Regions from separate parts of the Homo sapiens genome. Here all the other regions are linked to region 3. Evidence: promoter capture Hi-C in 16 types of primary human blood cells and fetal thymus (Javierre and others, 2016). All regions are on one chromosome and are shown on one strand. Each heading gives the region's core, a stretch centred on a gene start or on the middle of the fragment in contact. The rest is flanking DNA. Distances are from core to core; before and after follow the strand shown. Region 1 overlaps LINC02937 (long intergenic non-protein coding RNA 2937). Region 2 has its middle 47 kb from the start of MIR3910-2. Region 3 holds the start of AUH (AU RNA binding methylglutaconyl-CoA hydratase). Region 4 overlaps LOC100129316 (a long non-coding RNA gene). Region 5 has its middle 71 kb from the start of MIR3910-2. Region 6 has its middle 54 kb from the start of LINC02957. Region 7 overlaps LINC02937 (long intergenic non-protein coding RNA 2937).

Region 1 (3,560 bases), core at 3-2,502, 260 kb after region 3:
GTCCATGGGGCAGCTGTTTTACTGTCACCTTCCCTGTCCTGTCTCTCTTCCTGTCTCCACTCCCTACAGTGCTCCCAGAGATAACTTCCCAAATTTGCTGCCTGCCCTTGGATGTTATTTTAGGGTTGGCTTCTGAAGGAACATAAACGAAGACAGACAGATGTGCTGGGTAGCTATGTGTAAGATCACACTGAAACATAGCCAAGAACAAGGCACTCAGCCACTCCCAGGTTTAAAATCAAGTTTCCTACTTTGTCTCTCTGGTCTGAATCTGAGTGAAAGCCCAGGCTCCTGCGTCACCTGGGCCACCTAAGGATCTCCCTCCAGCCTCTGGGTGCTGAAGCTCCACCTGCCCTCACCACATCACAGGAAACCGCGAGCACATCCTCCTGCCTTCTCCAGCAGTCTCTTCAGTGAGCGCCTGCAGAACTGCATCTAGAGCACCGGGCCAATATTGTCACCTTCCCTGTCATGGCTTCCTTCCTGTCTCCACTCCCTACAGTACTCCTGAGAGCCGGGAGCACTCCCTGGAGCACTCCCTGATTCGTTTTATCTTCTGCACAACTGTTTGGCTGGAATAGGAAGCAAATGGCATGGAATTTGCATATGAAAAGCCATTCCCACCTGTGTCCTTGTGTCTGTAAGGATAGGAGGATCCAATCTTCTTATCTGGTAATTGGTCAACTGGGACTGAGGGTTAGTGGGAAACCTGTGTGCCCCTACAGGCAGGAGGGGGACGGGGTGACCCTCTCCGGTGGCTCTCAGTCTGCCAGTGTCCCTGGACTGTTTCCAAGCCCAGGGTTCATCTGGGACAACTGGGCAGGGGGCTATCGCTGCAGCCAGCCCCTTCCTGGGTGTACTGATGAATCAGGCTTCCCTGGGGCTCTGGGGAGGGTGATACCCCTTGCCCTCCCCTTCCAGAGCCTTGTGCACTCCAGGTGCTCACCCTGGAGCTGCCTCCCTCCAGTCTTCCAGACTCAGGCTTAGCTGCCTCTCAGCAGCATTTCCCTTTGCCCACAGAGGCCTCCTCTCCTCTCCCAGCTGAGTGTTCACCACTCTTTATTTTATTTTAAACTTTGTTTGGGTTAAAGTGTTTTCTTTCCTCCCTGACCGTTTTTCTCATCTTCTGCTGCCTTTTCCTTCCAGTTGCGGGTTCTTAGGTTCTGAGCCTGGGAAGCTCAACAGTCCATCTGGTGTTTGTAGATGGCCTCAGGGGACCTGACGCATGTCCACATGCCCTTTGGAGCTGAGGGGTGGATAGGACACCTGGGGGCACACAGTCCCCCACCCCGTGCTGCTGGGACAGGACACACTGACCCGAGGCCCCTTCCGGCTTCCTGTGTGGCTCCTGGCCTGGCCATGGGAGTTATGAAATCAGAACTGGTGACTGCCACATGCCTGGGGCCTCAGCCACAGCCAAAACCTAAACCAAATGAAGTCAAATCCCCACCTTAACCCATCTGGAAACAAAAACAGTCCCAAAGAAGAGAGAGACGTGAGCCATTTTGGACAGGTGTGTGATTCTGAAATTGAGGGAATGAGCAAGAAACAGAAATGCGCTCACCAGACCAGTTGCTGCATCCACTGGGCAGTCTGGAGCCGTGTGTGTGTGTGTGTGTGTGTGTGTGTGTGTGTGTGTGTGACGCTGACGAAGAGTTTTGAAACACTGAACTGACAGGGACTTAGAGGTGGAACTGTGTGACCAAATGCTTTTAAAAACGATTAAACTAACTTTACAGAATTCATCCTGAGGAGGGAGAAATGGGCCCTGTTGTAAGGCTCTGGATGTGGGAATTAAAATGCAGGTACTGGCTTGGCCCAAGAGCTGAATGCACTCTTAAGGAAACTGAATCTTTGCCACAGTCGGCAAGCTCAACAGCGATGATTAAACATTTAATCAGACACATGATACTTTGTTGTGTGTTCATTGTGGCTACAGGAAAGGGTGCTGTAACAGATCTTTAAATAGCAAACCCGCGGCTAAATTTCACTTCATCCATCAAAGGCTGCTGCTATGCAATGACCTAATTTTAGCAGCTTATCAATCCCCCAGTGCTTGTTAGTTGATGTAACTTTGATCCTCTGATGCTAGATGACTTTTGTGCTGAATATAGCTAGAATTTAATATGAATCACTTGGATGGCTGCCCAGCTGAGCTCAACTGTATGAGAGAGAGAGAGAGAGAGAGAGAGAGAGAGAGAGAGAGAGAAATAGAGGATTCGGGCTACCGAGGTGAATAATAATATACACATAGGCTTCCTTTTTTTTCTGGGGCAATCAACTCCATATCTCTAGGCATGTATTTCAAGCACAATACCCTTGGACTTTTGCTTTATTTCTCCCTCCTAAACAATGAGACTCTTCTCCCGGCAAACATACATAGGAGGTAATAATAAGCTGCTACTGCCAAGATCTGATGACAGTGTCAATAATTGCAAGACATTTTAAATGAATTTTTTCTAAGCAAATCATTGCCTTTTGCAGTGAGCGTTTATTTCTACATAGGAAGAGAGGAGCTGAGATGTTACGAAGGAGCAGAGAATATCTTTAACAGCCCTCCTCCTCTTTCATTTTCTAAATTATTAGATTGTGCTTTTTTGGCTTTCCTACTGTCTGGCTTCTCATCTGAATTTTGAGATTTCCTTCCATCCTTCTGGCTCTTTGGCAGAACCACCTGTGTCCCAGGCATCCTTCCTGGACGGATGTGGCTGTTGCCTCACTCTTCTCCATTTGCCCTCATTGACATTATTTCTACCCATAAAATAGGGTCCTGTGGTTTATGTTCTTCATTTTCTGAACCTGGCAGGAAAGCTTCCTAGACAGGAGGCCTGGGCAGACACTGAAACACACCGGACTCCTGGATGGGCCTGGCCCCGGACAGCTTGCTGGGGTCTTGCCCACCCTGTCACTCCACCACTTTCTCATCCAAGTTGGGAGAGTCTTTTCATTTCCTCTAATTTCTCCTTCCAGGATTTAACCACTGCCTGCTTAAAACCTCCTCCACTGCAGATTGGGGGTGGGGGGGTTGGGAGGAAATACAGCTTAATCTGACTTGGCCACTGGTTAGCAGCTTGGTAGAGGAGGAAACAGGACTCCCCATCTCAGGGAAGTCTGTGGATCTCAGGGTATTTCATCTCCCTGGGATTCCTGTGCTATTATCTAGGGTGTCCTTTGAAGAAGCTGTCATGGTACAGGAGGCCTTTTCAATGGATATAAGATGCCTTAAGATCCTGAGAAGAAAGATTCCTTTAAAAAGAGATAATAAGCTTCTGTAATAAAATGTCCCAAATGAAATTTACTTTAAATACACACACTGTTCAAACTAGCTTCTAGGTAGCTTGAGAAATGGCAGTGCCACAGCAGCGGTCCCCAACCTTTTTGGCGCCTGGGACCGGTTTTGTGGAAAACAGTTTTTCCATGGATGGGGGTAGGGGAAATGGTTTTGGGATGAAACTGTTCCACCTCAGATCATCAGGCATTAGTTAGATGATTCTCATAAGGAGTGCACAACCTAGATCCCGCTCATGCTCAGTTCACAGTAGGGTTTGTGCTCCTATGAA
Region 2 (3,230 bases), core at 492-2,991, 320 kb before region 3:
CCTTTTCACAGTTTCTGGTCATTTGGGTGTTTTCCCATCAATTGAGTCTTCATGTTTTCTGGCCATTTCTGCTGAGTAGTTTGTCATTTTCTTATTGTCCCACATGAACTCTTTACATCTTCTGGATACTAATCATTAGCTGGCTAGATGAATTGAAAATATCTTTTCTAGTATATTGCTCAAATTTTATCTTTCTTTATAATATCTGTCTCACAAAATCTTTTTTTCTTTTCTCTGTCACTCAGGCTGGAGTGCAGTGGTGCGATCTCGGCTCACTGCAACCTCCGCCTCCCAGGTTCAAGCGATTCTCCTGCCTCAGCCTCCTGAGTAGCTGGGACTACAGGCACGTACCACCACACCTGGCTAATTTTTTGTATTTTTAGTAGAGAAGGGGTTTCACCATGTTAGCCAGGATGGTCTCCATCTCCTGACCTCGTGATCTGCCCACCTCAGCCTCCCAAAGTGCTGGGATTACAGGCATGAGCCACCATACCTCGCCCACGAAATCTTTTACATTTAACATAATGGAGTTAACCAGATTTTACATGATGACTTGTGTCTTATTCAACAATTCTTTCCACATCCAGATGTCTCATAAATACCAGACAATATTTTCTTACAAAAAATTTAAAGTTTGCTTTTCACATTTAGGTATTTAATCTAGAATATATTATTTTAGTGTGTGATATGAGGTAGGAAAATAAAACGTACCTATTTTTCTGCAGGATAGGCAATTGTCCAGCACCATTTATTAAAAGTTGATGTTTCTCTATGAGTGTAACGCACTTCCGTGACACACCGTCACAGTATGCATAACACAGGAAGAAGTCTATTTGCAGACTGTTTTCTCCACTCGTTGATTCTTCTAAACACATTTTAAAAACAAATGCTTCTTGGCTGGGCGCGGTGGCTCATGCCTGTAGTCCCACCACTTTGGGAGGCCAAGACAGGTGGATCACTTGAAGCCAGGGGTTGGAGACCAGCCTGGCCAACATGGTGAAACCCTGTGTCTACTAAACATACAAAAATTAGCCTGGCGTGGTGACACACGCCTGTAATCCCAGCTACTCAGGAGGTTGAGGCAGGAGAATCACTTGAACCTGGGAGGCGGAGGTTGCAGTGAGCTGAGATCACGCCACTGCATTCCAGCCCAGGTGGCAGAGTGAGACCCTGTCTCAAAACAAACAAACAAACAAACAAACAAAAAACCACCAAAAACCACAAAAAAACCCACAAATGCTTCTTTAAAACAAATATATTCTATTTTTAATATTTTATTCTTTATGCTGTCATGTTTGCAGATACATTAAGTCAGGTTGAGAAATTACATTCTTATATCGCAATAAATGAGTCCTAATCTACTAACCTTATCATCTGGGCAGTAGAGCTGTATGCAGAAGAATGCCATCTTTTTGTTGTGCCTCTGAATTGCTTGTAAGGCCACATGACCAGTGCTGTTTTCTCTCACTTCTGATAATGGGGAGGAACTGGGATACTTGAGGGTCACCCTCCTAGGAAACCAGTCAGTAAATATTTGATTGATAGGTAGTTTCCATTTATCTACAAAATGAGATTACTCTTCATATGTGAGACATGGTTCTGCAAGTCCTAAGAGAGTTCATCATGCATTCTGTTGTTTATTTTTCTTTTGGAACGCCCTAGCTTTTCTTGACCAGGCAACCCATCATGAAATTTAGCATTGCAAAAATTCTGAATTGTTGGGTAATGAACCCAGTCTTCAGAATTTACATGGGGGAATCATTGTGGTGAGGTGCAGGGCACATCTTGGATTAGCTCTATTTTGTGAAATAAGATGTACTTGAGAAATAATCACTATATTTTTTCCTTTTTCTATTTTATATGTTTTGGGAATTAGTTGTGACAGTGTCTGTGGTGGGCAGAACCTTAGGTGACCTCCTCCAGGGTCCCCACATCCGGATGTTCACACCTTTGTGTGACCCCTGCCTTGACTGTGCGTGAGACCTGTGGCTTGCTTAGGCAGACACAATACGGCAAAGGTGATGGGCTGTCACTCCGGTGGTGAGGGTATGTTAGATTAGACTCTGTTGCCAGCTCACTCACTCTGGTCCCTCTCTCCCTGGCTGGCTTTGAAAAAGCAAGTTGCCATGAGTCAGTCCCAGACACGCAATGACACAAACTTTGTCTAACACACCACCCCAGGGAGCTTTCACAACCAAGCCCTGGGGACATCATGATTTCAGCCTGAGAGACCCAGAGCAGAGGCCTGGTTGAGCAATGCCTGTACTCCGACCCCCAGAACCTGAGAGATGATACATGCGTGTTGTTTGAAGCAGCAATAATGTTTGAAGTAATTGTTATGTAGCAATAGAAAACTAATACATTGACTTACAGATGATTTCTGAAAGTCATTTTCCTGGCTAATGCATACGATGGTTGGAATGTTCCAACCAATTCCACCGGGTTTGTTTTATCCAGATAAGAAATAGATAATGTTTATATTAACTCTTTCCCAGGGCCTATTACATTAACTTGTAGTTGAATGCTCACCCGCGGTTCTAAAACATGCGCTAGTTCCTACTTTCCCCTGCCTGTTTTATTTGTTCTCAAAGTCAGATGACTTGAGCTTGCAGCTCCAGCAGGGAAGGGTCCTTGTCTTTCCAGGTCACTGCTGTATCCCCCAATAACCAGCGAGGGCTGGGTACACAGCAGGTTCAAGAGATATTGGTTAAATAACTAGGTACATGAACAAATGGTTGTCATCACATTCTTAATAGTGTTATAATTCTCTGTCTCAGACTCTGGGGTAAGCGTTTTATGTACATTATCTCTCTCAATCACTACAACAGCCGTGCTGGATAAGTGGGACCAGTCTCCGCGGACAAGTGGAGACCTCGGGTTCCCAGAGTTTAGCGATCATCAGAGATCAAACGGAGATTCAGTGGCAGCACTGGAGATCGGACCGATTCTATTTAAAACACTTGTCTATTTAAGTATATTTAAGAACACACACACACATAAATATATATATACACACATATACATGCACGCAATATATACAGCATATATTTCTGTATAAATACATATATTTGTACTATACATTTATAAATAAAATTTTATTTTGGTAAATAAAATTATATATAAATTTAGCAAAAGGACTGAAATTCTCCGTCTACACTGATCTCTCTCGAGGGAGTGCAGTTTGGCAGCCCGGCTGCCCGAGGCTGTTTCCTGCCTGTGGGGTCCGTGCG
Region 3 (3,268 bases), core at 94-2,593:
GAGGTGGGAGGATCATTTGAGCCTGAGATGCAGAGGTTGCAGCGAGAGGCGATCACACCACTGCACTCCAGCCTGGCCGACAGAGCCAGAACCTGTCAAAAAATAAAAAATAAAAATAAAAATAAAAGTGCCTTCAACATCATTTTACAGCAGATGCAGTAATGGAATTCAGTCTACTTTTTGTTTCTACATTGGATAAAAGTTGAGGACATAATGAAGGATGTTTTGCTTAGGACTAAAAAATACAAGAAATTTCTGTGGCACTAGACGTATGCTCATAGCAGCACACTTTTCAAACAGTATTCTTTTTTTTTTTTTTTTTTTTTTTTGAGACAGAGTTTCACTCTTGTTGCCTGGACTGGAGTGCAATGGTGCAGTCTCAGCTCAGGGCAACCTCCGCCTCCCGGGTTCAAGCAATTCTCCTGTCTCAGCCTCCCGAGTAGCTGGGATTACAGGCGTGTGCCGCCACACCTGGCTAATTTTGTATTTTTAGTAGAGACAGGGTTTCACCACGTTGGCCCGGCTGGTCTCAAACTCCTGACCTCAGGTGATCCACCTGCCTCGGCCTCCCAAAGTGCTTGGATTACAGGCGTGAGCCACCGCCCCCTGCCCAGTATTCTTAAATGCAAGCTTTCCCATTAGAGATCTGATAAAAGCTAGGTAGCATTAATTATACTGCAACGTGCTTTGATGAGTACCTACACACTAAATTGATATCCCGAGTTTCTGGAAGAGCTACATACTCTAAATCCCATCTCAGCGTATGGCTTGTTTGAACCCCTGTAAGACTCTTTCCGTCCAGGAAGGGCCATGGGACATCGGTACGAGTGGGTGGGCTGGAGAAAGAACTCCTTTGCCTGTTTGCTGTTCTCATCCTTTTCCTGAACGCCACGTAGTAAACATCATTTATGCTTATCAGGGACGCTAAACCAACAACCTGAGATCCATAAGTAAGGCAGTGACCAACGATGGGCTGCCACACTTTCAGCCAACTTGAGGAGACAAAACTTTTTTGTTCACTTTTGCAGCTTACTTAACACAGGACCGCAGGGCATGGTCCAGGGAGTACGGGGAGATAATTCCCTCCGGGTGGTTCTTATAGAAAAGTCTTCCCTGAATTATTCCATAACCTTGGAAAACTACTTTCTTTCCTTTTGTATTGGACAAACCATCCAATCTCGCTTGGAGAATGGGGCAAGGCCTCGGGTCACCGGGCTTCGGCGGGGCAGTGAGGGGCGGGAACACGGCTCCGGAGGGCGGGGCCAAGCCGGAGCGAGGCGGCGGGTCCGGACGCCGTGCGCGTGCGCGCGGCAGGTCGGCGCCGGGCGGGGGCGGAGCGGCCGTCGCAGGTCCACGCCGTAAACAGACAACATGGCGGCCGCGGTGGCGGCGGCACCTGGGGCCTTGGGATCCCTGCATGCTGGCGGCGCCCGCCTGGTGGCCGCTTGCAGTGCGTGGCTCTGCCCGGGGTTGAGGCTGCCCGGCTCGTTGGCAGGCCGGCGAGCGGGCCCGGCGATCTGGGCCCAGGGCTGGGTACCTGCGGCCGGGGGTCCCGCCCCGAAAAGGGGCTACAGCTCTGAGATGAAGACGGAGGACGAGCTGCGGGTGCGGCACCTGGAGGAGGAGAACCGAGGTGAGGTGCGAACGCTGGGCAGGCGCGGGGCAGCGGGCGGCCGCTCGCTCTCAGGACGGGCATAAGGTGCAGCGTCCGCCGGCAGGACGCGGGGTCGAGGTCAGGCAGGCGCACCGAACCTGGGTCCCTCCCCTTTCTCACCTCCCTACTCACCCAGCGTGGCCGCTTCCTTGTGCACCTATTTCTTGCTTTTAATAACCTAAACGTGTACCCCCGAGCAGCTTACCTGTAAAGTGACCGCATTCAGCGCGGCAAACAGAAGTGCAGCTTACGCCCTCCGCTCCAGACAAGCCAAGGTCAATATATACCCTGGGGATTTAATCCTTGCTACCAGGCTTTATTGTTGCTGTGTAATGGCTTTCTGTAAACTCAGCTATTAGTGGTGGAGTTGTAAAAGCTGCGGTGAAACTGCCTTTTATTATTACGGAGAATCTTAAATTTGAAGCTGCTCAGCTGGAACAATTTTTCCTCTTGTTCATTTTCTCTTAGAAAGTTAGTCTTGAGGGACTGTTCCACTTCATTTAAACAATTTTGAGCACTTTTTATTTTCCTCAGCTCTGGCGATAAGAATGTGGATGGTATGGATCTTGCCCTTGAGCTACCTTCTACGGGAGGAGACATCATTAGCAATACAATACAGAGCTTTGAAGGCTTTGAAGGAGGCTGACAATCCTAGGGAATACTGTTACAGCTCAGTTCCTTTCACTGGCAGTGCAGGGAAAAGCTAAAAGGGTCGTGAAGGGTGGAATAGCAGTTTCCACCCTTAACCTCCGGGTTAAGCCAGAGGACCAGTGTTTTAATTTTGACATGCATTTGTTGAGCACCTATAATCTGTTAAGCAGAAGTGAAAAGCGTGTAAGTCGTGATTGGTTTTAGTGTAGTGAAGCAGATCCTGGTTATTAGTAGGCTGTGTGAACTTTCAAGGCATGGTAAGAGGAAAGGGCTGTAATACCTGCAGGGTTTCGCCATTTGAAAGGGGTTCCAAGGCATTCTTTAATAGGCAGTGGATTTTGCCATTTGTGAGGGTTCTTGGGCAGACTTATCTCACGTGTAAAACAGGAAAAACAATACCAACTTTATAGGTTTGTTATGAAGATGAGATGAGATTGTTAATGTAAATTGCCACTAGCACGTAGCAGTGCTTCAGGAGTGTGATGAATGACTTTATTCCTTACTTATTATTCCAGACAGAGACAAGAACATGGTCAAAGGCATGGAGATGTGAACATGTGTGGTGTATTTGGGACGTAACATAAGGCAAGTGTGGCATAAGCAGAATAGTAAGAAATTCAGCTGGAAGCATAGACTAGCACTGGAGTGATTAGAGCCTGAATGCCATCATCTTTTGGGTAAGCTTAGTCATGCCGGGACTTCACTTCCGTTAAGTGTACCAACAATATGTTAGATATAAAGGGATTGCAAGTACAGCTACTAATATGCACCATATTCTATTTTTTTGGTCGTTATGACTTGAATGCAATTAAAGGAATATTTGTGCAGAATGTCTGGACAGACTTTAAGTTAGGATCTGAATGGACAGAAGAGAGAATATCAGATAATAAAAGATAATAAACGAAAATTTTTTTGGGTATCATGGTTTCTTTTTTTTTTTTTCTTTAGCCTTGATTTCCTGAT
Region 4 (3,225 bases), core at 12-2,511, 290 kb after region 3:
TTCAAGCAATTCTCCTGTCTCAGCCTCCTGACTAGCTGGGATTACAGGCATGCACCACCACACCTGGCTAATGTTGTATTTTTAAGTAGAGATGGGGTTTCCCCATGTTGGTCGGGCTGGTCTCAAACTGCTGACCTCAGGTGATCTGCCTGCCTCGGCCTCCCAAAGTGCTGGGATTACAGGCATGAGCCACCGAGCCGGCTGGGACACTGGTTTTTTTGTTGCTTTTGGACATGAATGGAAAACTAGCTCTCCCTGGGTCTCAAGCCCGTGGCCTTCAGACAGTAACTGACACCATTGGCTGCCCCGGGGTCCAGCTTGCCCGTTAGCCCCACCGATCTTGAGGCTTGCCTGACTCTCTCTGTTTTTCGCTCTCACCACTGCCCCTACCCCCACACCCTATTGGTTCTGTTTCCCTGACTAATACACAGGTTAAACCAAGAATGCCAAAGGGACTCTTAGAGTTTATGCACTTGGTTCTCACTTATCAGCAGGCAAGAACAGTAGTCAGAAAATACAGTTGTGCATTGCTTCACAACAGATATACGTCCTGAGAAATGCATTGTTAGGCAATTTTGTCATAGTGCAAGCATCCTGTAATACACTCACACAAACCTTGATGGTAGAACCTGCTATGAACCCAGGCTATAGGGTTCAGCCCATTGCTTTTAGGCCATAAACCTGTACAGCATGGGACTGTACTGAGTACTGCAGGCAACCAGACACAGTGGTATTTGTGTATCTAAATCTATCTAAACGTAGATAAGGCACAGTAAAAATATGGTATAAAAGATAAAACATGGTATCCCTCCATAGGGCAGCTCATTAAAAACGCCTTTGTATATGCAGCCTGTCCTTCGCTGAAATGTTGTTGCATGGTGCTTCACTGTACTTAGCACCTCAAATAGGTAGAGATGTGTGCAGGTCTTGGGACAATAACAGGAACTCTGAGACAAGATTTCTGCCCTTTAGGGAGCTTTACATCTTGCTTAGAAAACCCATAGAAGGAGTTAATGATGCACATAGATGCATAGGAGAGAGCTAAAAGGCCAGCCCCCCAATTCCAAGCTTCAAGAATTTTGAACCCCAGGCCAGGGTTTCAGGGCAGCTGGATCACTTTCCCTGGAAGGATGCACTGTAGCAAGCTGGAGAGGCTCCCACCACCCAGGAGAGTGACTGGTGGTCTTTTAGCAGCAGAGATGGCTTGTCTGCAAACATAGTGAAAGATGCAGGTTGTTTATGTCCCTGGGGCAACCCCTGCCAACAAAGGGACAGGTGCCAGTGGAGAAGGGTCAGCCTCCTCTAGGAGAACTCTGGGAGACTTTCTGTGGGAATCCCAGGAGGCCCTCCAGGGCCATGCCTGTCTGCTCACAGCAGTGACCTTGACCAGGCAGTTCGATAACCTTCTTTCCTGAACACTCCCAAGAAAACTAGCTGATGGCCGAAGAAGCTTTGCTTCCATTCTTCTGTCTGGACTGCATTCCCATGGGCATTCTTGGAGAGGACATCCACATCCACGTTTCAACTTTGCGTGTCTCCAGCTTGCATGTTGCAGAGATTTGTAGACTCCATCTTCTACCACTGCTTTTGCCGCTACTCCTGCGGGCAGCTGCTACTGTAGGCCTGCTAGGCACTGGGTGCTTCACTTACGTGGTCTCTAATCCTCACCGCAGCTCAGCAAGGCAGGTGCGAGAGGTTCCATTTAACAGAGCAGCCAATTATTTAAGGTACCACTGGTGATCCCCGAGTCCCATCTGCCCCAGAGCTGGTGTTCTCTGTAGCCCTCCCTTGCTCAAGTGCTGCCTGCCATGTGCAGAGCATGGGTTCCCAGCTGGATGAGGCATCAGCCTGTACCTTTGGCCCCCCAGACCATGTCCTCCTGGTGTGGGTGCAGTTGGCTACACCCTTGTGCTGACCACTTGCTGTGCCAGAGGGGATTTCTGATACTGCCAAGACTTAGACAGCAACATGCCCTCCCATTATTGAACAGGGATGCTTTCTTCCAGTGTCACTCAAAGAAGCAGCAAGACTCTGTCTTAACGTGGCTTGCTGTTGCTATTATTTCCCTCGAAGCCATGAGACACTGGATGAGAGCAGCGGCTGGGCGTGTGAGTTAACATCGCATGCTTTCCTGACTCCACTGCCCCACTCATGGTAAGTGTCCAGTATGTGTTGTCCAAGGCATGATTGCATTTTTCATATCTTCCGTTTAACCTTCTTGTTGACTGTGGTACATCAATCCAGTTTGATTTTTCATTGCACACAGAGGTCATAGCATAGCTTCTTGAATTTGTCCTTCTCTGAATGGAAGCCACTTGGATCCTCCAGGTATTTCTCCAAGGGGCAGGGCTTTCAGCACAGAATCAACAGGAGAAACCATCTGGAAAGCCCAGAGGCGTGTTCGGCAGCGTGTGGGAGCAGAGCTGCAGTAAACGGTGGCTCCTTGTTCGCCCATCTCAGCTGTTCAGCTGACTTCTTGCCGTCTCCAGCTGTCTTCTCTATCTCATCCTGATGACTCCTTCCCACAACTCTTTCCCTGGCTGCCGCAACGGTCCAGCTGCAGCCTGCATTCACAGTTACTTACCTGTGGGGCTTTCTTGTTTCTGAGATGGCCGAATTGTCTTCTGAAATTTACCTCCATGACTCTGGTTATATATTTTGGTTCCTAGTGGGTGCCGACATCACAGTGGGCTGATTAGATGGTTTGCATTACTTGTTGGCAGGCCTTCGAGCCTCCTGTGCAGTTTCCCGAAAATATTCCATCTGCAGGTGGGAAGCCCAAGCCCCTGGGCAAATTATGCCATGAGTGTGTCTTGGCAGTCATTCTGGGTTCCAATGACTTGGGCCGTGGTTCAAACATTCCCTGGGGATTGTCCGGATCTGAGCTCCTGGTGGTGGGAAGCCAGCCTTTGGTGCCAGCCTGGCCCAGCACCATCTCTTGACTCCTGACCCCACCAGAGGGTGAGGACTTGGTGTGAGCAGGGACACAGCAGGTCCCAGGAAAGTCTGCTGAGTGAACGGGTGAATAAAATAGTCTCAAACCCTGTATGTTATTCCCTCCTTGCCCCTACTCAGAACTCCTCCTCACTTCCAATCGGAACTTGTCTCCTCTCTGCCAGAAGGTCAGCCCTGGTGATTCCTGGAGTTCATGCCTCCTGTCCCGCCATGGTTCTGTGGACTGCTGGCTGTTGTGGGGAGCTATCTTCCTGGTGAGCTTTGCAGGGC
Region 5 (3,480 bases), core at 314-2,813, 350 kb before region 3:
AAAAAATATCTGCAAACATTTCGTTCTGAAGGACACAATCCCTCAGCTTGGTCTAATTAGGCAGACTGATAACCTTGGTTCATACACATAGTATCAAGTTTTTCTTATAGCACATTTTTAATAATCAATCATGTACTTAACAACGAAGTAAGCCTTATTAAAATCCCCAAAGTAGAAACTTTACAAACTGTTTTTGCTGACCATAATTCCATAAATCTTTTTGTTGTTGTTGTTGAGACAGGGTCTTGCCCTGTCACCCAGGCTGGAGTGCAGTGGCATGATCTCTGCTCACTGCAACCTCTGCCTCCCGGGTTCAAGGAATTCTCATGCCTCAGCCTCCCCAGTAGCTGGGATTACAGGCATGCACCACCACCACCTCTGGCTAATTTTTTTTGTATTTTTATTAGAGACAGGGTTTCACCATGTTGGCCAGGCTGGTCTTGAACTCCTGGCCTCAGGTGATCCTCCCACCTTGGCCTCCCAAAGTGCTGGGATTACAGGCACAAGCCACAATGCCTGGCCCGTAAATCTTAATATGACCAGAAAAATAACTACTTCCAGTCAGGTGCGGTGGCTCACGCCTGCAATCCCAGCACTTTGGGAGGTTGAAGCAGGTGGATCACCTGAGGCCAGGAGTTCAAGACCAGCCTAGTCAACGTGGCAAAACCCTATCTCTCCTAAATATACAAAAATTAGCCAGGTGTGGTGGCACACACCTGTAATTCCAGCTACTCGGGAGGCTGAGGCAGGAGAATTGCTTGAACCAGGGAGGTGGAAGTTGCAGTGAACTGAGATCGCACCACTGCACTCCAGCATGGGCGACAGAGCAAGACGTTATCTCAAAAAAAATATATAATAATAACTACTTGAACACTTTTCTAGGTAAACCCTGGATCAAAGAAAAAATCAAAATCAAATGTCAAGGTATCTAGAAATTAATGAAAGAAGAATACAATTATGGAATACAGCTAAAGCTGCATTCTAAGGAAAAGTTAGAGCTTAACTACTATCTTATTTAAAAACAATAAAAAGCAAGCACAATTTATATTCACAAACAGGAAAGATCCCCAACCCCCATCCTCCTGTCCACACTGCTGTGACACTGGCTTTCAGAGCCCTTAGAGCTTCCTCAACTCTTAACTCTGTTCTCCTCTGCAATCCACCCCCATTCTTTCCTCCCTCTGACATCCTCACTCAGGCCTCGTCTTCGACCCTTTCCTTTCTGAGTGTTCTACTTCTGCTAGTAACTTGTTAAATGAATAGTAAACTGAATTTATTTATTTTTTCATTATTTTCTGACATTAAAAGTGATAAAGAGGCTGGGCGCAGTGGCTCACGCCTGTAATCCCAGCACTTTGGGAGGCCAAGGCAGGTGGATCATGAGGTCAGGGGATTGCGACCATCCTGGCTAACACGGTCAAACCCCGCCTCTACTAAAAATACAAAAAAATTAGCTGGGCATGGTGGCGGGCGCCTGTAGTCCCAGCTACTTGGGAGGCTGAGGCAGGACAATGGCGTGAACCCGGGAGGTGGAGCTTGCAGTGAGCTGAGATTGCACCACTGCACTCCAGCCTGGGCGACAGAGCGAGACTCTGTCTCAAAAAAAAAAAAAAGTGATAACTGATTTTCTGGTAACTTTAGCAAGATGGTGGAAAAGGAGTTCCCTTTCTTGTATCCCCTACAGCAACAACAGTTTTACAGCCATCCACAGACAAAATGCCTGTGTGCAAGCTCTGGGATCCAGGTAGGAGGTTGCAAAACTCTGGTGGAGGCCATGACCAAGGAGGGCCATTTTGAGAAAGCAGGCTCACTGACTATGGCAGTCCCAGGTGGCCAGGCTCACTGACTGTGGTCCCAGCTACACACCTGGAAACAGCCTATTCCCCTGTGGACTCAGCTACAGCCCCATTTGGCCTTGGTCCTGCCACCAACATGATCCACCAAAGGCCCTAGGAGGAGTCATGCTCACCCATGCCTCATGTAACATGCCCACTGACTGAAGGTTGACTGCTGATCCTGAAATAGCCCCGTAACAAGCTCCAGCTCCTTTCAACCATGGCTTGAGAATGGTTCTGCTCACCAAGGGCATCAGATGGAGACACACCCAACTGAGACCCTGGACCTCAGTCCAACTGGAGATAATGAAGTGACCTGTGACCCAGCCCCAATTCTGCTAAGCCATGATTTGGGGCAGTCCTGCCCACCAAGGAATCCAGCAAGAGGCATACCCATCCATACCCCTGGAGGCAGACTTGCAGACCTCAGTCTGTGCTGTAGACTCTGAAGCAGCCTTGTGACTTAGTTCTAGCCCCACTCAGCCATAGCCTAAAGTCAGTCCTCCCCACCCAGAGACTTTCCCAGTGACCCAATAGGAGACGTCTCAGGGACCTGGCAGAAGCCACACTCATCCACACACATGGTAACAGGCCCACTGTTTGCAGACCCAACTGAGCACTCTGAAGTGGATTACTGTCCTAGTGCCAGACCTACTGCCCAATTTTCTGGAGGCAGTTCCATCTGCCCAGGGACAAAGGCTGAATTATCACCCACCTGAATGTCTGGTAACAGGCCTACCAATGATGGACCCCATGCAGACCCAGCAACAGCCACATAACCTGGCCCCAAACCCACTCAGCTGTGATCCCAGAAACAATCCCATTGGTCTGGATGGCAGCAGAAGGTCTTTGCCTGCCAAAACCAGCCTGTAAAGACTAGAAGAAGGGTTTGCTCCTTCAAATGTGCAAACACCAATGCAAGCCTACATGGAGCACAAAGAATCAGGCAGACACGACACTACCAAAAGAAACTAATAAAGCTCCAGTAGCAGACCCCAAGAAATGGAGGTCTACAAATTGCCTGATGAAGAACTCAAAATGAAGTCAGGCCTCTGTACCTGTGGGTTCTGCATCCATGGATTCAGTCAACCATGGATCAAAACTATTTTCGTGTCTCCAACTGCACACAGATAGGCTTTTTGTTGTCATTATTCCCTAAACAATACAGTATAACAACTATTTACATAGAATTACACTGTGTTAGGTATTATAAGTAATCTAAGATGATTTAAAGTATACAGGAGGATGTGCATAGGTTATATACAAATACTATGCCATTTTATATCAGAAACTTCAGCACCCACAGATTTTCATATCCATGGGAGGTCCTGGAACTAGTCCTCCATGGATACTGAGGGACAACTACACTCATTTTAAAGAAGCTTGATGAGATGCAAGAGAACACAGACAGACAGCTAAATGAAATCAGAAAAACAATGCATGAATAAAATAAGAAGATTAATGGAGAAAAAAGAATCAAACAGAAATTCTGGAGCTGAAGAATACAACGGCAGAACTAAGCAATTCAATAGAGAGCTTCAGCAGCAGATTTTTTTTTTTTTTTAATTATGCAGAAGAGTCAGTGAACTCAAACACAGGTCATTTGAAATTAGCCAGTTAGAGGAATAGAAAGAAAAAAATAATG
Region 6 (3,180 bases), core at 386-2,885, 310 kb after region 3:
CCATATACTATTAATGGGAACATTTTAACAATAGTAAGCCTTCCTATCCATGAACATAGGTTGTATTTCCATTTATTTGTGTCTTCTTTAATTTCTTTCATCAACATTTTGTAGTTTTTAGTGCATAAGTCTTTCCCCTCATTGCTTAAATCTATTTCTAAGTATGTTATTCTTTTTTATGATGTTGTAAATGGATATTTTTTCCTTAATTTTTGGGGGATAGTTTGTTGGGGGATAGTTTGGGGGATAGTTGTTGTTAGGGGATACTAGTTGTATATTAAAATACAACTAGTTTTTGTAGGTAGATCTCATATCCTGCAACTTTACTGAATTCATTTATTAGTTTTAACCAGTGTGTGTGTGTGTTTGTGTGTGTGTGTGTGTGTGTGTGTGTGTAGTCTTTAGGTTTCTCTACATATATCACGTCAACTGTAAATATGTAATTTTACTTCTTCCTTTCCAATGTGGACATTTTTTTCTTCTTCTTTAGCAATTGTTCTGACTAGAACTTCTGGTACTATGTTGAATAGAAGTGGTAAGAGTGGGCATCCTTGCCTTGTTCCTAATCTTAGAGGAAAAGCTTTCAGGTTTTCACTATTGAGTAAGATGTTAGTGATGGGCTTTTCATATGTGGCCTTTATTATGTTGTGGTAAATTTCTTCTATACCTAGGTTTTTGAGAAGTTTTATCATGAAAAGGTGTTAATTTTTTCAAATGGCTTTTCTATTTCTGTTGAGATAATCATGTGATTTTTATCCTTTATTCTGTTAGTATGATGTATCACATTTATTGATTTGCATGTGTTGAATCATCCTTGAATTCCAGGGATAAATCCCACTTGATCATAATGTATGATCCTTTTAATGGGCTGCTGAATTCAATTTGCTAGTATTTTATTGAGGGTTTTTGCGTCTATGTTAATCAGGAATGAATGTAAAAATACAGGATCTGTAGTTTTCTTTTCTTGCAGTATCTTTGTCTGGCTTTGGTATTGAGGTAATTATAGCTTCTTAAAATAAGTTTGAAAATATTTCCTTTTCTTCATTTTTTGGGGAAGAGTTTAAGAAGAACAGGTCCTAATTATTTAAATATTTGGTAGAATTCACCAGTGAAGTCGTGTGGTCCTGGGATTTTGTTTTGGGAAGGTTTTTGATTACTGATTCAATCTTCTTAACTTATTATTAGTCTGTTTAGATTTTCTAATTCTTCATGATTCAGTATTAGTAGGTTGCCTGCTTCTAGGAATTTGTCCATTTTTTCTGGGTTATCCAATTTATTGGCAGAAATTTGTTCCTAATAATGTCTTATAATTCTTTTTATTTCCATGGTATCGGTTGTAATGTCTCCTTTTTTATTTCTGATTTTATTTAATTGAGTCTTCTCTCTTTCTTTCTTAGTCTAACTAAGGGGTTGTCAATTTTATTTATCTTCCCCAAAACCAAACACTTAGTTTCCTTGATATTAAAAATGTGTTTCTGTTCTCTGTTTTGTTTACTTCTGCTGTAATAATTATTATTTCCTTCGCTTTGCTCACTTAGGCTCAGTTTGTTCTAGTTCCTAGAGCTCTAAAGTTAGGTTGTTGATTTGAGATCTTTCTTTTTTAATGTAGGCATTTATTGCTGTAAACTTTCCCTTATAACTGCTTTTGATGCATCCCGTAAGTTTTGGTTTGTTGTGTTTTCATTTTCATTTGTCTTGAGATATTTTCTTATTTTCCTTTCGATTCCTTCTTTTACTCAATGGTTATTCAATATTGTGTTGTTTAGTTTCTACATATTTGTGAATTTTTCGGTTTTCCTTCTGTTATTGATTTCTAGTTTTATCCCATTGTGGTTTAAAAAGATACTTGACATGATTTCAATCTTCTTAAATTTGTTAAGGCTTATTTTTGTGACCTAACATGTGATCTATCCTGGAGAATGTTCCATCTGAGCTTGAGAAGAATGTGTATTCTGCTGCTATTGGATGAAATATTCTGCACATGTTTATTAGGTTCATTTGGCATGTAGTATTGTTAAAGCCCGCTGTTTTCTTACTGATTTTCTGTGTGGATGTTCTATTTATTACAGAAAGTGGGGTATTGAAGTCTCCTACTATTATTATATTGCTGTCAATTTCTCTCTTCAGACCTGTCAACGTTATCTATTTAGGTGCTCTGATGTTGTGTGCATACAGTGTATATTTACACTTGTTACATCTTCCGAATGAATAGACCTTTTAATTATTATACACTGACCTTCTTTGTCTCTTTGGACAGTTTTACCTTAAAGCATATTTTGTTTGTTATAAATACAGCCACCCCCACTCTCTTTTGGTTTCCATGTGCGTGGAATATTTTTTTTCCATCCCTTTACTTTCAGCCTATGTATGTCCTTAAATCTAAAGTTAGTCTCTCCTAGATAGCACAGTTAAATCTCTAATCCATTGTTATTTAAAATCCATTCAGCTATTTTATATCTTTTGATTAAGAAGTTTAATCCATTTTTATTTAAAGAAATTATTGATAATCAAGGACTATTGTCATTTTATTTGCTTTATTTGTTTTGTAGTTCTTTTGTCCCTTTTTTGTTTTTTCACTGTCTTCTTTTGTGATTTGATGATTTCTTTGTAATGATATGTTTTGCTTCCTTTCTCTTTTTATTTTGTGTATCTACCATAGGTAATTTCTTTGTGGTTATCATAAAGCTTACTTATGTAAATCATCTTATTTCAAGCTTTCAATCATATACAAAAACTATACTCTTAGTCTCCCCACATTCCACATTATGTAAATGATAGCACAATTTATATCTTATATATTGCATATCCATTAACACATTTTGGTAATTATAGCTATTCTTTTTTTTTTTTTTTTTTTGAGACGGAGTTTTGCTCTTGTTGCCCAGGCTGGGGTGCAATGGCGCGATCTTGGCTCACTGCAACCTCCACCTCCTGGGTTCAAGCGATTCTCCTGCCTCAGCCTCCCAAGTAGCTGAGATTACAGGCATGCGCCACCACGCCCAGCTAATTTTGTATTTTTAGTAGAGATGAGGTTTCTCCATGTTGGTCAGGCTGGTCTCAAACTCCCGACCTCAGGTGATTCGCCTGCCTTGGCCTCCCAAAGTGCTGGGATTACAGGCATGAGCCACGGAGTCTGGCCTAATTATAGCTATTCTTAATACTTTTGTCTTTTAACTTCTA
Region 7 (3,644 bases), core at 217-2,716, 280 kb after region 3:
CCTTCATGGGTTCATCTATACAGAAGCTCTCCAAAACCTGTCCTTTATAGAGTCCTCATTGCATAGGCATGATTGACTCAATCATTGGCCATTTGTGATCAACTCAACTTTCAACCCCTCTCCCCTCCCTGGAGGCTGGGGATGGGGCTGAAAGTCCAGATGCTCTAATCACAAGGTTGGTTCCCCCTGGAAACCAGCCCCTAACCTGAGGCTGTCCAGAAGCCTCCAGTCACCAGTCATCTCCTTAGCATACAAAAGGCACTTATCAGTTGGGAGGTTCCAAGTGTTTTAGGAGCCATATGTCAGGAAAGAGAGGTAGTTGAAAACCAAATATATGTATTGCTTATTATAAGTCACATTATCCCAGTGTGTTTTTGTGTTTGGCTTCTTTTTTTTTTTTTTTTTTTTTTGAGACGGAGTTTCGCTCTTGTTGCCCAGGCTGGAGTGCAATGGTGCAATCTCAGCTCACCGCAACCTCCGCCTCCCGGGTTCAAGCGATTCTCCTTCCTTAGCCTCTCGAGTAGCTGGGATTACAGGCATGGGCCACCATGCCTGGTTAATTTTGTATTGTTAGTAGAGATGGGGTTTCTCCATGTTGGTCAGGTTGGCTGGGACTCCTGACCTCAGGTGATCTGCCCGCCTTGGCCTCTCAAAGTGCTGGGATCACAGGCGTGAGCCACCGTGCCCAGCCTGGCTTCTTTTTTTTTTAGCATTCACTTGACATTTAGGCCGCAAGCACATGTAAGAACCTGACAAGAGCCCCCCAGGTAAGCCATACCTGCATTCCTTATTGACAAAGGCTGTGAGATAATAAACATTTACTGTTGCTTTCAGCCAATAAATTGTGGGATAATTTTTTAGACAGCAATAGATGTAAACCAAACATAAAATCCTAAGCCTTCCCCTGACTGTCTGAATGGACTCGCTGTAGGCCAAGGGGACCCCAGAGAAACCTATAAAACAGAATTCCCGACAGGAAGGGGGGTCAGACATGCCTCATTATACACCCTCTATTCTGGAGTTCAGGCAGAACTGATCAGCATTAACATCAAAATAGAGATTAAGAGTCTGACACCTTTTGAGGTCTGAAAAGAGACATTTACCCTCTATCCTTGGCTCTTGAAACCCCCTTATCTTAACTCAGGCATTTTTTTTTGCTGCTGGGTTCAAGTTCTTAGACAAAGCTGAACTCTTTCAATCAATTGCAAATCAGAAAATCTTTGAACCCAACTATGACCTGTAAGCACCCCTACTCTGCCCTGACCCTCTCCACAACTTTACAGGCTGAGCCAATGTAAACCTTACATGTATTGATGCCTGTAACTTCTGTCTGCCTAAAATGTATAAAACCAAACTATAACCCAACTGCTTGGGACACACTTTCTTAGGACCTCTAGAGACTATTCCCTTGGGCCATGGTTATTCATATTGGTTCAGAATAAACCTCTTTAAATATTTGACAGAATTTGTTTTTTCCATTAATGTAGAGAACGAATACATATGAGCATGTGAATACTGTGAGGCAACTAAGTCCCTTTGATATTCAATGTACCATCAAGTCCAACTCCAAAGGTGCAAAATTTGTTAAATTGTCCACTATTAAAACTTGGGGACATGAGAAATATATTACCAGTTGTATTAGCATGTTTCGTTAATGGGATGAAATTTGTCCCTTTTTCTAATTTTTTAAAGAAAGCTGTATCCAGATCAAAAGACAGAATCCCCAATTTATTTTTAGGTCCATGTAACAGGTTGGATGAATAAGAAAGAAATTACATTGTGGACACTGTGTCCCAGCGGGTGACCAAAGTAACTTGCCCTGTCAGTCTGGGACAAGCCTTCGTTGGTCAGACAGGACAGTTGTAATCCCTGGGAGACTCAGTCGGCCAGCCCCGACTTTGAGATACACTGTCAAGAAGCCATTGAAAGGACCCGCAAGGGGCTGGGCACAGTGGCTCACACCTGTAATCCCAGCACTTTGGGAGGCCACGGCGGGCAGATCACCTGAGGTAAGAGTTTGAGACCAACCTGGCCAAAGTGGTGAAACCCCGTCTCTACTAAAAATACAAAAAAATTAGCTGGGCGTGGTGGCTGGCATCTATAACCCCAGCTACTCAGGAGGCTGAGGCAGGAAAATCGCTTGAATCTGGGAGGCGGAGGTTGCAGTGAGTGGAGGTTACAGTGAGCCGAGATTGTGCCATTGCACTCCAGCCTGGGCGACAGAGTGAGACTGTGTCTCAAAAAAAAAAAAAAAAAAAAAGGAAAGATCTACAAGGGAAAAGGGAAGGGAAAGAGGCAGATGCAGACCTCACACTCCAAAAGGAAGAAGGAGGAGGCTCACACGTCACAAGTGTGTGAATATGTCAACACATCATGGAAGGCTGTAAAACAAGAGCTCTTGGTGAAATGGTTTAAATAACGTGGGACTGGTAATGCTCTTGGCAACCTGAGTATGATTTGTTGTCTGCAGATGGTTTTGGCCTGTGTTCTCCTGTAGTGAAGGCTAACAATTAAGAGATCCATCTAGAGTCCACTAACAACAATGGTTTCAGGCTTTGAAAATATTTCTGGCAGGGCACGGTGGCTTACGCCTGTAATACCAGCACTTTGGGAGGCAGAGGTGGGCGGATCACGAGGTTAGGAGATCGAGACCATCCTGGCTAACACGGTGAAACCCCGTCTCTACTAAAAATACAAAAAATTAGTCGGGCGTAGTGGCGGGCGCCTGTAGTCCCAGCTACTCGGGAGGCTGAGGCAGGAGAATGGAGTGAACCGGGGGAGGCGGAGCTTGCAGTGAGCTGAGATCACGCCACTGCACTCCAACCTGGGAGACAGAGCCAGACTCCGTCTCAAAAAAAAAAAAAAAAAAAAAAAAGAAAATATTGCTATAAGTTTTCAGGGTAAATATTAGAACCTTTATGACACTTAAAAACAATGTTTGTGACTATGAAGTAGTCATTATTCATGAAATCTTTGGATTCTGAAATCATTTCCCCAAGTTTTCTCCTGCGACTTGCTGTGCATTATTATTCAGTAAAAGATTTGCCTTTATGCATGAACATGATGTTGGCATTCCTTCAAATTTATTGTTTTTTCTGTTTGCTTTGTCCCATTTTTTAAAATTAGATGTTTTTATTTTGAGATAATTGTAGATTCACATGCAGTTGTAAGAAATAATACACAGGGATCCTGTTGTACCCTTTTCCCTAGTTTCCTCCAATGGGTAGGATTTTTCAACGCTAAAATAAAGTATCTCAACCAGTGTATGCACATTGATAGTCAGGATCAGAACATTTCCAATACCACAGGGTCCCTCCAGTCACCCTTTAATAGCCACACATGGTCCCCCACTCCACTGTCCTTAACCTCTGGCAACAACCAATCTATTCTCTATTTCTATGATTGTGTCGTTTCAAGAATGCTATATAGAAATCACGTAGTGTGTAACCTTTTGCAGTTTGCTGGTGAAGACCCAGCACCATTTCCTGGAGATTCATCCAAGTTCAGTAGTTTATTCCTTTAGATTGCTGATTGATACACCTTGTGTAAATCAAAAATAAAATTCTAAGCTCTCCTACCAACTGAATGGACCCCTCGTCTCGGCCAAGGGCAGTTGAAAGTAAACCTGCAACATTAGTTCGGCC

The links. Contacts are between HindIII fragments. The CHiCAGO score rates a contact against its expected background, and 5 or more counts as called.
Region 1: a fragment that was not itself captured here is called in contact with the fragment with the promoter of AUH in region 3 in 13 of 17 cell types (total CD8 T cells, naive CD8 T cells, megakaryocytes and 10 more); the score reaches 18.2 in total CD8 T cells.
Region 2: a contact is called between a fragment that was not itself captured here and the fragment with the promoter of AUH in region 3, in 2 of 17 cell types (M2 macrophages and megakaryocytes). The highest score is 5.4, in M2 macrophages.
Region 4: a fragment that was not itself captured here is called in contact with the fragment with the promoter of AUH in region 3 in 4 of 17 cell types (activated CD4 T cells, total CD8 T cells, megakaryocytes and 1 more); the score reaches 9.6 in activated CD4 T cells.
Region 5: a fragment that was not itself captured here is called in contact with the fragment with the promoter of AUH in region 3 in 1 of 17 cell types (naive B cells); the score reaches 5.1 in naive B cells.
Region 6: a contact is called between a fragment that was not itself captured here and the fragment with the promoter of AUH in region 3, in 12 of 17 cell types (activated CD4 T cells, total CD8 T cells, naive CD4 T cells and 9 more). The highest score is 15.6, in activated CD4 T cells.
Region 7: a contact is called between a fragment that was not itself captured here and the fragment with the promoter of AUH in region 3, in 7 of 17 cell types (megakaryocytes, M2 macrophages, activated CD4 T cells and 4 more). The highest score is 9.5, in megakaryocytes.

The regions. Positions count from the first base shown.
Region 1 is chr9:91,098,781-91,102,340 of GRCh38, reverse strand. It overlaps LINC02937 (long intergenic non-protein coding RNA 2937), which reads left to right. Exons shown (of 6, transcript NR_184105.1): 4 at 1-672. Among named protein-coding and RNA genes, the nearest start is that of LINC00484, 19 kb to the left of the region's middle. The HindIII fragment of the contact is 3,123 bases long and covers 1-2,813 here.
Region 2 is chr9:91,681,927-91,685,156 of GRCh38, reverse strand. No RefSeq gene overlaps it. Among named protein-coding and RNA genes, the nearest start is that of MIR3910-2, 47 kb to the right of the region's middle. The HindIII fragment of the contact is 6,199 bases long and covers 1-3,230 here.
Region 3 is chr9:91,359,993-91,363,260 of GRCh38, reverse strand. AUH (AU RNA binding methylglutaconyl-CoA hydratase) reads left to right here and starts at 1,343. Exons shown (of 10, transcript NM_001698.3): 1 at 1,343-1,633. The coding sequence starts at 1,372. RefSeq lists a silencer at 1,173-1,612. The HindIII fragment of the contact is 2,357 bases long and covers 633-2,989 here.
Region 4 is chr9:91,065,658-91,068,882 of GRCh38, reverse strand. It overlaps LOC100129316 (a long non-coding RNA gene), which reads left to right. Exons shown (of 4, transcript NR_033912.1): 3 at 2,007-2,154; 4 at 2,267-3,225. Among named protein-coding and RNA genes, the nearest start is that of LINC00484, 52 kb to the left of the region's middle. The HindIII fragment of the contact is 382 bases long and covers 1,071-1,452 here.
Region 5 is chr9:91,705,457-91,708,936 of GRCh38, reverse strand. No RefSeq gene overlaps it. Among named protein-coding and RNA genes, the nearest start is that of MIR3910-2, 71 kb to the right of the region's middle. The HindIII fragment of the contact is 3,312 bases long and covers 1-3,219 here.
Region 6 is chr9:91,049,456-91,052,635 of GRCh38, reverse strand. No RefSeq gene overlaps it. Among named protein-coding and RNA genes, the nearest start is that of LINC02957, 54 kb to the right of the region's middle. The HindIII fragment of the contact is 2,105 bases long and covers 583-2,687 here.
Region 7 is chr9:91,081,661-91,085,304 of GRCh38, reverse strand. The region is part of intron 5 of LINC02937 (long intergenic non-protein coding RNA 2937); the gene reads left to right. Among named protein-coding and RNA genes, the nearest start is that of LINC00484, 36 kb to the left of the region's middle. The HindIII fragment of the contact is 6,963 bases long and covers 1-3,644 here.